Regions from separate parts of the Homo sapiens genome. Here regions 2, 3 and 4 are each linked to region 1. The links are contacts of gene promoters, found by promoter capture Hi-C in blood cells and fetal thymus (Javierre and others, 2016). All regions are on one chromosome and are shown on one strand. Each heading gives the region's core, a stretch centred on a gene start or on the middle of the fragment in contact. The rest is flanking DNA. Distances are from core to core; before and after follow the strand shown. Region 1 holds the start of ACTR3 (actin related protein 3). Region 2 holds the start of GCC2 (GRIP and coiled-coil domain containing 2). Region 3 overlaps LIMS1 (LIM zinc finger domain containing 1). Region 4 holds the start of CCDC138 (coiled-coil domain containing 138).

The links. The method cuts DNA at HindIII sites, captures the fragments that hold promoters and counts their contacts. A CHiCAGO score of 5 or more calls a contact.
Region 2: a contact is called between the fragment with the promoter of GCC2 here and the fragment with the promoter of ACTR3 in region 1, in 2 of 17 cell types (naive CD8 T cells and fetal thymus). The highest score is 12.0, in naive CD8 T cells.
Region 3: a fragment that was not itself captured here is called in contact with the fragment with the promoter of ACTR3 in region 1 in 2 of 17 cell types (activated CD4 T cells and M0 macrophages); the score reaches 5.9 in activated CD4 T cells.
Region 4: a fragment that was not itself captured here is called in contact with the fragment with the promoter of ACTR3 in region 1 in 1 of 17 cell types (fetal thymus); the score reaches 5.2 in fetal thymus.

The regions. Positions count from the first base shown.
Region 1 is chr2:113,888,314-113,892,002 of GRCh38, reverse strand. ACTR3 (actin related protein 3) reads right to left here and starts at 1,914. Exons shown (of 12, transcript NM_005721.5): 1 at 1,680-1,914. The coding sequence starts at 1,723. ACTR3-AS1 (ACTR3 antisense RNA 1) reads left to right here and starts at 1,011. Exons shown (of 5, transcript NR_110174.1): 1 at 1,011-1,110. LOC124906071 (a long non-coding RNA gene) reads left to right here and starts at 2,236. Exons shown (of 3, transcript XR_007087205.1): 1 at 2,236-3,689. RefSeq lists enhancers at 974-1,153, 1,204-1,253, 1,336-1,991, 2,024-2,113, 2,234-2,543 and silencers at 1,384-1,643, 1,884-1,943. The HindIII fragment of the contact is 5,488 bases long and covers 1-3,594 here.
Region 2 is chr2:108,447,247-108,450,935 of GRCh38, reverse strand. It overlaps GCC2 (GRIP and coiled-coil domain containing 2), which reads right to left and starts at 1,730. Exons shown (of 23, transcript NM_181453.4): 1 at 1,656-1,730; 2 at 1,247-1,303. The coding sequence starts at 1,661. RefSeq lists enhancers at 1-239, 240-740, 826-1,807, 1,644-1,903, 1,808-2,790. The HindIII fragment of the contact is 5,578 bases long and covers 752-3,689 here.
Region 3 is chr2:108,614,819-108,618,507 of GRCh38, reverse strand. All of the region lies in intron 1 of LIMS1 (LIM zinc finger domain containing 1), which reads right to left. Among named protein-coding and RNA genes, the nearest start is that of LIMS1-AS1, 62 kb to the left of the region's middle. The HindIII fragment of the contact is 2,004 bases long and covers 1,116-3,119 here.
Region 4 is chr2:108,783,389-108,787,077 of GRCh38, reverse strand. It overlaps RANBP2 (RAN binding protein 2), which reads right to left. Exons shown (of 29, transcript NM_006267.5): 29 at 1,269-3,482. The coding sequence ends at 3,177. CCDC138 (coiled-coil domain containing 138) reads right to left here and starts at 307. Exons shown (of 15, transcript NM_144978.3): 1 at 163-307. The coding sequence starts at 255. RefSeq lists a silencer at 1-498. The HindIII fragment of the contact is 573 bases long and covers 964-1,536 here.

The DNA of each region.
Region 1 (3,689 bases), core at 665-3,164:
CAAAACACATTTGAAAAGTCCTATCCTACTGACTCAGGCCAAATCTAATTTTAAAACTGAACCTAGACATAAAAATACTCACCAATTAGACTAAGAAGGGAGAAATAAAAAAAATTATTGGTTCAGAGAAATGAGACTGAATTAAGGAAAAACTTTTAAATAAAGTGTTCATCAAAAAAATACATAGAAGTTCCAAGGCTAGTGTTTTCCTAGGAGAATATTAAGAAGTTGGTGGTTTCTCTCTACCTAACTGGGATTTTAGAAACTGCCACACTAGCTAGTTATGAGAATGAAGATTAAAGAAATTTCACATAAAGAGTGAAGGACACACAATCTTTTAAGTAACAATAATGAAATCAATAATTATAATTAATAATAAAAAAAAAAGCCTGACAGTCCACCTCTTACTGACTTCCCCCTCAAAAAAAAAAAACTGGGAGTGTTCTGGGAATTGGAGAGATGTCATCAGCACAGAAAAAAAAACCACTTTCCTATATGTCATCCTGAAGCAGTGATTCTACATAAAAATAAGGGTAGTCTATTCTCTATGCAGTTATGAGTGTGGTACAACTCTCTAAAACGTCTATTAATACAAAATGAACGACCACACTTTAAAGCCACTCTACATTTTCGCAAACTACCCTACATATCTACGAGTAACTATTTGCAACTTAAACACCCTCCTATATACCTCTATACCTTCCTGCTTCCTTCAAGATACCATCACAGAATGAACGAATACAACTTAAATTAGTTTATTTTCCAGGGTGCTTCCTTTCCCCCACTCCATGAAACATAAGTACATTTTTTTAAGTCATATAAATGGACACCAAGCACCGGTAATTCAGTCTCTTTAAAACCTGCTTAAAAGTTCTAGTAAGATGTGCTCAGGTTGGAAACTAAAAACTACCTTATAAGGGTATAAAAGACTGAAAGCAGGAAGCGGCTTTGACAAAACTAAGGAAGTTGCAGCGCGCTTGCTCACTGGGGGACTTTTTTGAGGCTACAGAAGTAACACATGACATCTTTCTCCCTCGAATTAAAATGTGACTTGGTTCACCGGTTAAAACGCAGAGGGAGATGGAAATGACCAGGAGTCGAAAGGAGAAGGTGGGTGGTCAAATGAAAGCCCCACTGTAGGTTCCCATTTTCAGAGTCCGATTCTTCCCTTTCCCCACCCACACCCTGGGCAGAATGTTGTCACAGCGATCTTGTCAAACCTACCAGGAGCGCTTCTCTTTTCTAGCTCCCCTGCCAGGCCAGTCCCCGAGCTCGGCCCCTGGGTCCCCAAACCGACTGGCAAAAACGGGCGCGGAGGGAAAGGAAAGCCGGATGGGTCGGGCCCGGGGACCACCCCCAAGACGACCGTCCCCAGCGCCCTTTGGGCGGCGCTGCCCACCGTAGTGGGGGAAGGGCCGGGAGGGGTCGCGCGGAGAAAGCCGCTGGGAGGGTTGGGGGTTGAATCTCGGGCCCGCGCCCCCGCCCCAGTCCCAGGAGGGAGAAACGAGGGGACCCGCGAGGCCCTGGCTGCGGGCCCCACCCCTCGCTGGCCGGCGGGTCTAGGACTGACAGCCGGCGGCGGCACCTCGCCGCACCATTCATTTCCCGGCCTCCTCCCTCCCCCGCCATCTTCCTTCCTCCGCCTCAGTTTCCCCACCCCCGCCCGTAAGCCCCCTTACCCCGTGCCACAGTCCACCACACAGGCCGGCAGCCGTCCCGCCATCTTCCTCCTCGCCTGCTGCTGCTGCTGCCGCCGTCTGCTCCGTGCTGCTAGGGGCCAGAGATTGGCGGCGGGAGACAAGGGCTATCTGACCATCCACAGCTGGGCCGCCTTCACCGTCCGGGGGGTAGCCGGGAAGCCGAAGCAGTAGCAAGAAAGCAGCAGGCTCGGTCGGCGGCTATCACTTCCGCAACCCAGGCAGGCAGGCAGTCCCCGCCCTGCCCCGCCGCGGCCTCCTCCCCCTCTCTCTTCCCTCCTCCTCACTCCTGCCCCCACCCTACAACTTCTTCCCCTCACGCCGCCTTTCCCCGGGAAGCCAAGATGGCCGCCGGTGCCGACGCCCCGGCCAGGCCAGGCCCAGGCCCCCAGCGCTCCCCCTTCCGCTCCGAGCGGGAGGGGCTAGCGAGCATGCGCAATAAGGTACGTTCGCCTGCCTGGGCTCCGATCCTGAAGTTGGTGAAATCCACTGCGGGTTTTCCAGGAGTGTAGAGGCGGAGAAGTCTATCCGAGCTTCCAGTTCTGCTTCTGAAGCTGGAAGGGGCTTTTCGGTTGTAACCCTTGGGTTAGTTTCAGTTACTTCTTTGCTAGGTTGAGGAAAGGGTGGAAGCGCCTCCTGCAGCCACGAATATCCTCCAGTGCCTGAGAGAAAACGGCCTAATCGAAAACGTCCGCGGCATACATCCATTCTTAAAACTTGAGTGGCTGCTTTTCTGGGTGGAAAAGAGCGGTATCAGACAGGGTGAGCAGTCGGGGAACGGATGAACAAAGACTTGCACCGTGGCCCTGATGCCTTTGTTCCGAGTTCTATTCAGTTGTACTTGTGCGTTGTTACAGGACTTTAGAATGCAGCCCTGCCCCCCAACCCCCACCTCCCAGGGCCGACCTGTGCTCCTAGGAAGGCAAACCTCCCAGGAATATATTCTGCATAACTATACAAATAGGCCTTTATTCAAGGCTTTTGGATTATGACAAAGATTACCCTCAGGAGTAGTAAGATTCTACTAGCAGGATAATAGAAAGGATTAAGGCTCCCCTCCAAAGAAAATTTTTTTAAGTTAGAAACGGAGGCGAGCCGCAGTGGGTCATGCCTGTAATTTCAATGCTTTGGAAGGCCGAGGTGGGAGGATAGGATAGCTTGAGGCTAGGAGTTCGAGACCAGCCTGGGCAACATGGGGAGACCCCCCCCCATCCCTCCAAAAAAGAAAAGAAAACTGGAAAGCCTTAAAGAAACCTTTCAAACTTTAGTGTGTATCAGAATTACCTGAAAGGTTTGTTAAAACAGATTGCTGGGCCATACCCCCAGAATTCTCTGACTGGGCTATCGGAAATAATGCCTGAGAATGTGCATATCTAATAAGTTCCTAGTTCCACTTTAGGACCCTAGAAGGTTAGTATCTTTCCTCTCTACCAGGCTTATCTTAGGATGAACCGTTCGGGGTTTGCTGATGTGAAGCTAAAACAAAAATATTCTTTAAAAGGAGGGATGTCTTATTCAGTCCATAAGATCATCTAATGTATTAAGCTGGCTTGGGGGATGAATCGGGTGTTTCATTCATTCATTTGACAGGTAAGCATTGCTTACCTACTCTATTATGACGGGGTCTGTGCTGACTCCGAATATTCGGTGGGATGCAAAATAGTTAAGTGCTCTTGTAGAGTTTACAGATTAGCGGAAAACAGACAAATTGTGTTAAGAGCAATAGAAAGAAGAGAGCGGAGGACTCTGAGAAATGAAGGCGAGGAGTGGGAGAATGAGAGGAAGGTGGAAGGCAGGTAAGGAGTCTGACCAGCTGGTATTTAAAAGCTAAGATGGGGGGAAGAGTCTCCCAGGAGAGTGAACAGCAAGTGTCAAGGACCTGAGGCAGGAACAAGCTTGGCTTCTTCCACAAATTGAAAGAAGATCCATATGAAAGAGTCAGAGAAGATGCAATGGGAGATGAAGACTGAGAGATAAGGAAGAGTGAAACAG
Region 2 (3,689 bases), core at 481-2,980, 5.4 Mb after region 1:
TCTACAGAATAAATCTTTATGCCAACCGCATACTTTGTTCCACATTTTTTTTTTGAGACAGAGTCTCGCTCTATTGCCCAGGCCGGAGTGCATGACACGATCTTGGCTCACTTGTAACCTCTGCCTCCCAAGTTCAAGCAATTCTCCTGTCTCAGCCTCCCAAATAGCTGGGATCATAGGCGCCCGCTACCACGTCCGGCTAATTTTTGTATTTTTAGTAGAGACGGGGTTTCACCATGTTGGCCAGGCTGGTCTCAAACTCCTGACCGCAGGTGATCTGCCCGCCTCGGCCTCCCAAAGTGTTGGGATTACAGGCGTGACCCACCGCGCCCGGCCACATTTTTTAAAATCAGCAAATGCAACGTCAATTCTGTAATTGCTATGCAACTACTAAAAATTAGTTATGCAACTACTATGAAACGTAAAAACCAGGCCATATCCTCTTATAGCTAATGTTACAGGTTGACATTGCTAGCTTTTGATTTAATTGTAAAATCAGTAGGTTGGAGCTAATGCTACTTAAAATTCCTTGGAGCTGTAAAATTATTTCATTCTATTCAAGGCTGCAAGTCTTTGGTCACAAGAAAATTTACGCATAATTACAGCAGCAAGATGAACCGGGTAACATTCAGGCTTTAATTAAAAAATTGAGCTTTACCACTTGAGAAAATTGCTTAAGCCTGTGGTCTCAGGTTTCTCATCTGTAAAAGGAGGGTAACAACAGTACCTATCTCATGGTTATCATGAAGCTTAAACGAAGGAACTGAGTGGTTAGGCAAGCGCCAGAAATTTAGCATGCACACAATAAACCTTAGCAATAAACCACTATCATTTAGAATGATTGAATGTTAAACATTGTACAGGGCCATAAAACTGGACTAATTAAACTCTTTGGCAATGTAGAAACTGGAGCCCACAGATCAGAATCCCTTGATTCCTACCCTATGTCACTGCTCCTTCCACTACACCACTATATAAACCTTCTTAGACTGCTTTATGTTCGAAAAATAGCAGGATCTCCCAGCAGTGCTAACCAGGAGCAGGAAGCAAACAAAAAGTCTTTCTATATCGGGGTGGGCGGGGGAGAAACAGGAAATGGGCGATTGCGCACACTAAAATTGAGATCCCTTGGAGCAAGGCTATTAAAAAAAAAAAAATCAGCGCCCCCCCCTTCCCCATGCCAAAGTTTTCCAATTCATCACCCTTCCACTCTTCAGGAAGCCCGCTATTCAAGTATTCTCTTCACCTTAGATTTCCCGGTCCCAGGGGTAGCTGGTGAAGCCACCCCATCTTGAACAAGATCCTGCAAAACAAAATCAAACCCAGGTGTCAGAAGAACTCTTTTCCTAATTCCACACGGAACGCGTAGAACCCTTACAGGGAAAAACCTTCTATGGAATCAAGTGGTGGAAAGCCTCGTGAGACAGAGAATGAGGGCGGACGGAGGCGGTCGCTGTGGCAATTCGTACACAAACGGGCTCTACGGGGCAGGTAACCCCCAGGGATAGAGTTTACGAAAGATGGGGAGGCGACAGCAGCGCGGGCTTCGGGACACCAAGAGGGAGACTACCGCGCCCTCCCATCGGGCCCACTCCCACATCCCAAATCGCGGCGCGGAAGGCTTGATGGGAGGCAGTGGGCCCGACCTGAGTTACCTCCATCTCCGCCAGCCCGCCGCCGGCCCGCAACCAGCCGCCGCCACCGCTGCACTTCTGTTTGCGCCAGCCTCTGACGTAGGCTCTACTGCAGGTCAAAGGTCGCGCTCTCCGGGCGGCCCGCCCCCCACGTCTCCATAGCTACAGCTCGGCAGCACTTCCGCTTCCGTGTCTGCGTCCGGGAGAAGGTTCCCCGTACGGCGCTAAGGGCGGAGTCCGTCTAGACGTTCTACCTGGGGCTCGACCCCTGGGCCTGCAGGTCACGGAGTAGGTGTGGGTCCCGCCACTGCCGGTTATTGGCATGGGAAGGCGGGCCGATTACCCCTTGGGGCCTCGGGCCTCGGTTTCCACGTCTGTAAAATCTTGTGAGAGTGAGGAACATTGGATTGCAGGACAGGTCTCTCAGTCCTCCAAAGGTGTCCGCTAGCCTGCGAGTGCCTGCGGGACCCACAGCTGGTTCCGGGGGGCTCCTTAGGCATTTGTGGCCAGCATGGTGCCCGGGAGCTCCGTGACTCACAGGTCAGGGATGCGGTAGAGGGCTTCCCTGAGGAGGCATTTCTTGACTCTGGAGGCTGTGAGGAGGTCCCTGGACAGCTCTGCCCTGCAGCCGCCCGGTACTGATGGTGATGTGGTGGAGGCAAGATAGTCGGCCAGGGAACTGGGCAGCCGTGGGAGGAGACTCTGTAGAGTAGGGGGCCCGAGGCCACCCTTTCCCGAAGGGCACGCCAGAGAATCTGTGGTCGAATCCCAGAGCTGCTGCTGTGTCCTGATTGGCGGTCCAGTGCTCTGAGAGCCTTTCTGTTAACTGCTGAAGTGGTTTGCTGCGCTTTCACCTTCCCATTAATGTTTTCCATACACTCCCATAACTAAGGTAACCTGAAGATAACCTAGTTTCCTGTAGTTTAAATGGTCAAAAGGTTGAAGAGGCAGCACACAGTATGTATCGAGTAAATGGTAGCTGATTATTACTAGGTAAAAGAAGTGTTATAAACGAGAAAGAACAGCTATTGTGGACATCTACTCTTTGTCTTTGACAGTGTGTATCACCTATGGTGTTTGTAGGATTGGTTCAGGGGTGGTGTGTGACCTAAGATGTACAGTCTCCACGTACAGTAACACACGTGTGTGTGTACACGTGTGTGTGTACACGTGTGTGTGTGCACGTGTGTGTGTGCACGTGTGCGCGCACGTGTGTGTGCACGTGTGTGTACACACATATATGCACACACATGTATACACACACACACACACAATCCCCAAGTATACATTGTTATTAATGGTCCAGATTAATGCCATTCAAAGTAGTTCCCCAAGTTAAGAGCAACTTACGGTAGACTCCTATTTCAATTAATAACTTGAAAAAATCACTTGCAATAAAATAGCAGGTTAACTAGATACTACACACATTCCAATCCTGTAAAAGTTTCTCAGAGAAACACTGTTAGATATAGTTACATTCCAGGAGTTTGGCTACATCAATAGCTACAGAAGAGTTGATGTTCTCACAGTAGAACTCTCTTTTTCTCATACTTGAAATAAAAAAGAACCTTTCTTTTCTTCCTTTGATCTTTCTTCCCTCGCCAGCCCTCCATTGCACTTGGCTGGGTAACAGGGTCCATGAGTTGCAGCTACAGGTAGGGCAGCGTCTCCTGGGAATCCCCAGGGAGATGAGGGTCAGCACACCCCTAAGCTCCAGGTCATCAGCGGCCTCCTCACACAGCTCGAGCTCACCCCCATCTGCCTTCCTGGTTGTCATTGGACAGGAATTTTATTTTCTGAGATGATGGAGGCAGGTATAATGTTCTTGACCATCGGATACCTTCTGTTGTTGTTCCTCTTAAGGAAGAAATCATTTATTTCTTCCTTCACTAGTTATAGTAAGTGCTGAAATCTTCTAAATATATTTATCATCTTTCATACTTTAAAGAATGAATATTTATGAATTGATTGTGAGTACTCTGAGATCTTCTGATATTCATAAACCTATAGGAAAGATCTGCTTTATATTTCACATTCTCTGGACTGCAGATAAGT
Region 3 (3,689 bases), core at 868-3,367, 5.3 Mb after region 1:
AGAGAGGACTGCTTTCCCTCCCCAGCACCCTTCAGACAGCAGCACATCAGCACAGGGAAGGGGGTCAGATGGGCAAACACCCAGGACACACAGCAGGGCCATGACAAAGACAGGGAGGAGTCCCCATCTATTTTTCCTTTCAAATGTACTTTCCCATGGAGATGGAATTATTAATTATGCCTGAATTCTCAGATCAGGCCCTATTTAAAAGGGTTTCAAATTTCAAATAACTGTCTTAGCATGATTTTGACAGTACAGAGGGAGGCCTGTATAAATGCATTTTCTGCGGGTTTCCAAATAGAGATATTTTTCATTTTAGCACTCTAAAAAAATCTTTGAAGGTCAGTCCAGACTCTCATTCAATGCAGAATTCCCCACCGTCATTTTCCCCATGGCCTCATCCCTATACAATATCTATGACCTGGGAGTTTGTCTCTTCATGGACACTTGCAGTGATGGGGAAATTACTACCTCATAAAACTCCTGGGGCTTTCCCCCACATGCCCAGTGGTTCTTGAGGAACAACAGTTCACAAAAACTGGGAATAAGACATTTGCCTTAACAATTGGTCTGGCCCTAATTACAACTTTCTGTCCTTTTTTCCAAACTGCTGGGTTCTCCTTGAATCTGTACTTTGACTCCAGCAGATCTCACACCCCCATCCCAGCTGAGAGGACTGGACTCCAGGAGTTTCCCAGACAGACTGTGCTTCCTCTCACTTTCTAGCCTTTGCACATATGGCTTGGTAAGACTGGAAGAAGGATCACTGGCAGGACTAGCTCCTGATCATCCCACTAAGACTCACTACAAGGATCATCTCTTCCGAGAAACCTTTCTAAACCCCATATCCCACTTACCGCTGCATCTATAGGGCCAGGGACATGGAAGACAGTCACGTTTGTTAAACAAGCTTTATGTTTTAGTTGTTCAACCAATTAATTTTGAGAGCCTAATCATTTTACAATGTCATGTTTGAGAAGAAATCTCCAGAGTTTTGAAGCTTTTTCATTTCTGCATGTAACACTCAATGTTACCTAAATGAGATTTTAAAAGACACACTTCTTCTACAGTATTGGAAAAATTTACTTTCTTGGTGAGACTAAAACTCTGAAGCTTTCATATTTGTGGAGTTGAACAGTACCTTCCACAAGTATAAACATTTTCCATTTGTGATAAGAATAAAAAATTAGCCTGGATTTTTGCCTAAACTTGTCATAGTCCAGCTTTTAGCATCCTGTTGCAATTAACCCCTTCAGATATAAGAGGGTAAAGAAACCTAATTAAACATCAAGCTGTAAATATGATCATTAATGTTACTGAATCATCAATTATTTCTCCTATACAGAGTTAAGAAAGCTGCAAGCTGGTTTCCATGGCTAACTGGGGCTCACTGCCAGTACACTAGGTACTAATGGCTCGTAAACTGGTTGAGCAGCTGTACATTTCCAGGCCATTAATTTCCCTGTGTGACATAAAGGAAGAATGTTATGTTTTGCAGCTAACTTTGCACTTGATGGAAATGAATCATTTTTAGTTTATGTTTTATCTCATAAATAATCATTTACAGGGAAAATCAAATTTTATCTAATAAAGCAAGAATATCCCTCCATACTATGTCCAACACACATTCATCTGGCAAACATTTATTTGCCAGCCAAGCTGTCTTCCTAAGTGAGGCCTCTCAAGACTGCTCTAGGCTATAAATTTGAAGGAAGAACAGGGCTATATATCTGCTGCAGAAAAGGGTTCAACGATGTACCATTGCGAGTAGGCTCAAGGTCAAGCTAACTGGAGCAGAGAGTATGAGAAGGCAGAAGCATCTGTCCACAAAAACTGTTCACTGTGTGGAAAAAAAAAATCATGAAAATATGGTCCCACTCACAAGCAGATAATATTGCAACTGTCTACAAGCCCCTCTGAACTTTCTCCTTAATCAGGCTTCCTGGACCTCTGACACATCTGACTGGACAGGCTGAGCTGTCATTAAAGCTCATGTGAGGCCAGTGTGGTGGCTCACGCCTGGGATCCCAGCAATGTGGGAGGCCGAGGTGAACAGACAGCTTGAGCCCAGGAGTTTGAGACCAGCCTGGGCAACACAGTGAGACCTTATCTTTGCAAGTAATACAAAATTAGCTGGGCGTGGTGGCGAGTGCCTGTAGTCCCAACTACGAGGGAGACTGAGATGGGGGGATCATGATCACTTGAGCCTGGAAGGTCGAGGCTGCAGTGAGCTATGGTCACACCACTGCACTCCAGCCTGGGTGACAGAGTAAGACCCCTATATCCAAAAAAAAAAAAAAAAAAAAAAAAGCCCATGCAAACTTGCCTGTGTCATTCTCATACAGCAGCCTCTTCCACAACCAGCAACATGGGGCCATCAACAGTCTTCAATTTAGACCATTATCAAATGTTCTCAAAAGCCACTGATACAATATGCAAATTTTCCAGGTATATTTCCAAATAATTTAGAATGAAATTCTAAGTAACCTATCCAATCCCACGTTTTCAAGGGGCCAAGGGAGAGTACAAGGTAGGTTAGTGGAAGGATACAAGAGGTGACCAGTAGACATTTAGCTGACAGTTCCACGTTTGGAAACTCCCTTGCTGTGACTACCTTATAAGTACACAGGAAGTCATTTAACTATCACAGTCCTCCATTGTTCCACTTGAATCAGAAGTGGCTGAATTAGGTGACCTCCATGGTCTTCTCTGCAGGCTAACATTACTTGGTTTTCAGACAGGACCTGTGCAACATGACTCCCTGACTAAGCACACTTTTCTCCTTCTTCATATAGTCAGAAATCTCATTCCTGAATAAAGCAGGTACACATGGGCAGGCTCTGCACATTCAGCAATTTCCCAAAGGCATCAGTGTGCCAGGCCTTTGGGGTGTGGAGGAGAACCCTGAACAGCCTCTGGGCTCCCCAGATCCTTCTCCATGAACACCTTTTCTTTGGTCACAAAGCTGCTTGAGGATAAGAGCTCTAGAGTAGATAAGGACCACAAAAAGGCATGCTGATCACCCTAGCCCCACCATACCCCCCACCCGACCCAAAGAGAACAGAGGGTCCTCCTCAACAGAGCGCTGACCTTTCAGGGAAGGAACACAGACAGAAGCTTGCAGCAGGACTGCACTTTTCCTCCCTGAGGGCAAAATAGAGGGTATCTCACTCAATGTAGTAAACTTGCTTCTGGAAAACTACATATAAAGCTAAAACTTTAGCACATAGAATAATTTTTCTTTCCCTAAATGAACTTATTTTTAAAAGGAATTCTAGTGGTACTCTTCACAAATGAGAGCTTTCCACAAATCCAGATTTTCCCATAATTTGACTTAAAACTAGATACATATATATGTATTGAAATCACTTTTTAGATATTGTTTCTATCCGTTCTGCCTGACCACCAACTATACATACAACTATACGCTATAGATTCTAGCGTATCTATATCTGCTCAGCATATTTCTAAACTAAATCGTCATTACAAAAAAATCCAATAGGTTAAATACTTCTGTGTGAGAGGAGAAATGTAACAGTTACTTGCAAGCTAACAGTTCCGATATTCTGAAGACCAGAAAGAACAAAAACGGTTCTTCTCCCTGCCCTGGAATTCAAGGGGTGTGTCTTAAAAAATAAACCACAATTCCTGCCCCACCCCAGTATAGGTTCATGACTATAGCCAATATT
Region 4 (3,689 bases), core at 1-2,500, 5.1 Mb after region 1:
CCCCTCCCGCCTGCTTCCACGAGGCCCAAGCCGCAGCCACGGCGGGAGTGCCGGGGCCGGGACCAGAGCCGCTGCGCGCCCCCAGGCCGGCTGCGCGGGGCACGGAGCGGGCCGCCCCCCAGCAGCAGGAGCCCACCCGCGGACCTCAGGCGGCGGCTTCACCTCGTCGGGGCAGCTGCCCCCGAGTCCGTAGCGGCTTTTGAGACTCTCCACTACTAAATCCTGCCCCGGTGGCTTGACGACCCTCGGCTCCATAGCACACAGCAACCGTACCAGTCTCCCCGGGAACCGCGTTCATCAAACCCGCGGCGCTACGCGGCCGCAGTGCGTCACGACGTGCCAGACCCCGCCCCCCCGAGGCACGCACGGCGGCAGGGAAAGGGCGGGGCGGGGCGACCCGGAGACTGCAGCCCGGCTTGTCAGCGCGTCCTCCAAGTTTCTCGTGCTAGCACTACACACCTCGTAACTGAGTAGTATTGCATCTCCCCGCGATAGTCCTGCCCCGGCTGCCTGGGTGCCACGGGTTGAGGGGCACCGAGGCCCCGCACCTGCCTGCAGCGCTCCGCTCCAGCTCCATTTAACCTGTTAAGTTTGGTGTGCGTTGCGCTCACCACATAGACCGGTCGTTCCATCAGAAGTGACCTTTGCTAACTGCCATATAAAAGAAAAACCAAGAGTATATCTGAGCCGGGAGTGGTGGCGCGCGTGTAGTCCCGGCTGCTAAGGAGGCTGAGGCGGGAGCATTGCTTTGAGCCTGAGAGTTACATCTATCTTGGGTAACATAGCAAGACTCCCATCTCTTAAAGTTAAAAAAAAAAAAAAAAAGGGAAAGCTGAGCATAGACATTGCAGATTACCTCACTTTCCCTGTGTTCCATATGGGGTATAACAGGGTATTAAAAAGAATAGTTAGAATGTAAGCACCCTGGAAAAAAAACTTTTTTTTTTTGAAAAGAAAAAAGCTTTTGCCAATACCTACAACAGTGCTAACCATAGTACATAGTATACATCAACCTGAAAACCTATGTTAAACAAAACTGACTGAGGGGAACTGTACAACCACTTCATTTTTCTCATTCATAAAATTACAGTGGTGTAATCTTTTACTTTCTAAATTGTGACTGTCAGCTGCATCTCTGGACTAACAACTCCTAAATTCTCTGGATTAAAGTTCCCAAATGCCCAAGTTTTATAAAATCTGTACTTCAGCAGTTATTATCTGAAAATTACTTAGGCCATACTTTTTGCCATAAAGTACCACTTAAGATGTACAAATAATGAATTTTATTCTATCTTTAAGCAGATTTTAATGAGACAACATAAAATCCAGTTTAAAAGGAAAGATACATATTATCGTGGGTTTAGACCACATCAGTGATTAAATAACAAAGAGAAATCAAAGTCCTTTCCTGAAATGTGACACAAAGACTTTCTCATAAATGCCACAAGCCACTTTTAAGCATCTTTGGAATACTAATACGGGAAAAGTCAGTTTACATGTCATTTTGTCAAATTTTTGGTCAAAGTTTTTAAAGCTTTTTAATTTGTAACTTTAGTGCTTTAGGAAAGCATACAAATCTGTAAAAAGTCTCTTAAAAAGCACTTGCATTAACTTAAGAATTTATTCTAAAATCATGACGAAGGCATCAACTGTCTCAGCTGAAAAGTTACAACACACTTTACATCAGTTTATATTACATAGATTTCCAAATAAGCCAATTTGAAATATTTAGTGTAAACATATGTAATCCATGGTTCAAGACTGAACTGATACATTTGGAGTAGGTTTATTTCAAGTATCTGGCTTTGTGGCCGAGTGGAATGGTGATGGTATACCATCACTCATTACTCGCACAACATCCCTCCCCTCTTTTGACTGGTGGTTGAACAGTTACTTGCTTTAGGATACCCAATTTCCAAATCCCCATGTAACAGGGAATAAACCTGTCTTTCCTCACTAAATAAAATGAGGTAATTTCACCCGAAAGAACACAGATGGGTGGAAGACAGTCAATATTCATAATTGCAATATACAAAATTTTGTGTTCTACCTGGATTCTTTGTAGTTCCATATTGAGTAGGCCAATAAGAACATCCTCTTTTCTTTAGCAATTTGCCTAACATTTGATACAAGCCATTTCCAAATACGTTTTTGGTGTGTATCAAACTTGAGAAACTAGGAGCTCTGGAAATTATGCAGCAGTTTGAATTTACTGCCTTTAAATTGTCTTCCTTACTTTAGAATGAACCCGAAGCGTAAGTAATGAATTTTTTGGATGTCAGTGGCTCTTAGGAATTGTCATTTTATTTCTGCTACAAAATTTACCAGAAAAAGGTACTGCAACAATCTTGTATAAAGCAAATCTTTAACGAAAGAACATGGTATAGACTTTCTAAAAATATTCATACTTTATCACAATAACTACAAGGAAAAATTCAATTTCTATCATCAGAACCAAGCTGCAGTTTCTGAGGTAGTAGAGACAGATGACAGAAAAGTTTGAAACAAAACCCCTAAAGGAAATAGTCAACTTGTTTAAAATGTAAAAATTAATCGAATATCTATGAAAGGGCACAGGAAGCTAGATATTTTAAGGAAGGAAGGTACGCTACTTACAAAGTTAACTTGTAACCACACAGGAGGTGTAAAGATTCTAGAGAAGAGCACTTTGGTTAACTCTATACGTTCTGTGGCTCTACCCATTCATAAACGAGTCTCTATGCATAAATGAGTACACCAATAGTTAAGATTACCAAATATATTTCAAACCTAAAATTAAATTATCCAAGTTGTGGTCCCTTTATTCAAATGGTAAGTATATCCATGCAGGAAGTCCAAATATCTTAAAAGGAATTAAAATTAAATTGCATATATCATATTCCTTCAATAGTTTGAGGTCTATTGCTTTTAACAAGATTAGTATTATTCCATTTTAATACGTCAGGAGTACATAAACACAAGTACACCTGAAATACACCAGTGTTTAAACTTTTATTTCACACCATGCAAGGTCAATTATAACACATTAAAAAGTGACAACAGCTATAAGCTGCAATTTTACATTTGTAAATCGGAAACGTCCATTTTCAAAAGCTGAACATAACTATCAAATTGTAATAGCTAAGCTTCAATCCAACTGCTTATACAGATGAAATTTTCTATGAACAACAATGATTTTATATCTGTCCACATTCTGTGATAGTTATTCTTCGACAAACAGACCCTTTGGGAGAACCAAATGATTCAATCTTTTTCACAGTATCCATGCCATCCTTAACAAACCCAAATACTACATGCTTAAAGTCCAAATGTTCTGCTTTCTTCAGTGTTATAACAAATTGAGAATTATTGGTATTCTGGCCTTGATTGGCCATGGATAGTAAACCAGGACCAGTATGTTTCACATCAAAATTTTCATCTTCAAATTTGTCTCCATAAATGGACTGTCCGCCTGTTCCATCATGTTTGGTGATATCTCCTCCCTGAAAAAAAGATTTATAATAAAAAAGTTAAAAATTTTTTTCAATTAATAGGAATCCTGAGTAAAATATTAAAATACACACAGAACTCATCACTACATGTTAAATCCTAAAGCCCAGCTTTCCTGAGTATAGTTTGAAAACTAAGAAATTCATATTGTTGGAAAGAAGATGAAAAATGAAAAGGTTTTTCCCATCCCTTAGTTTCTA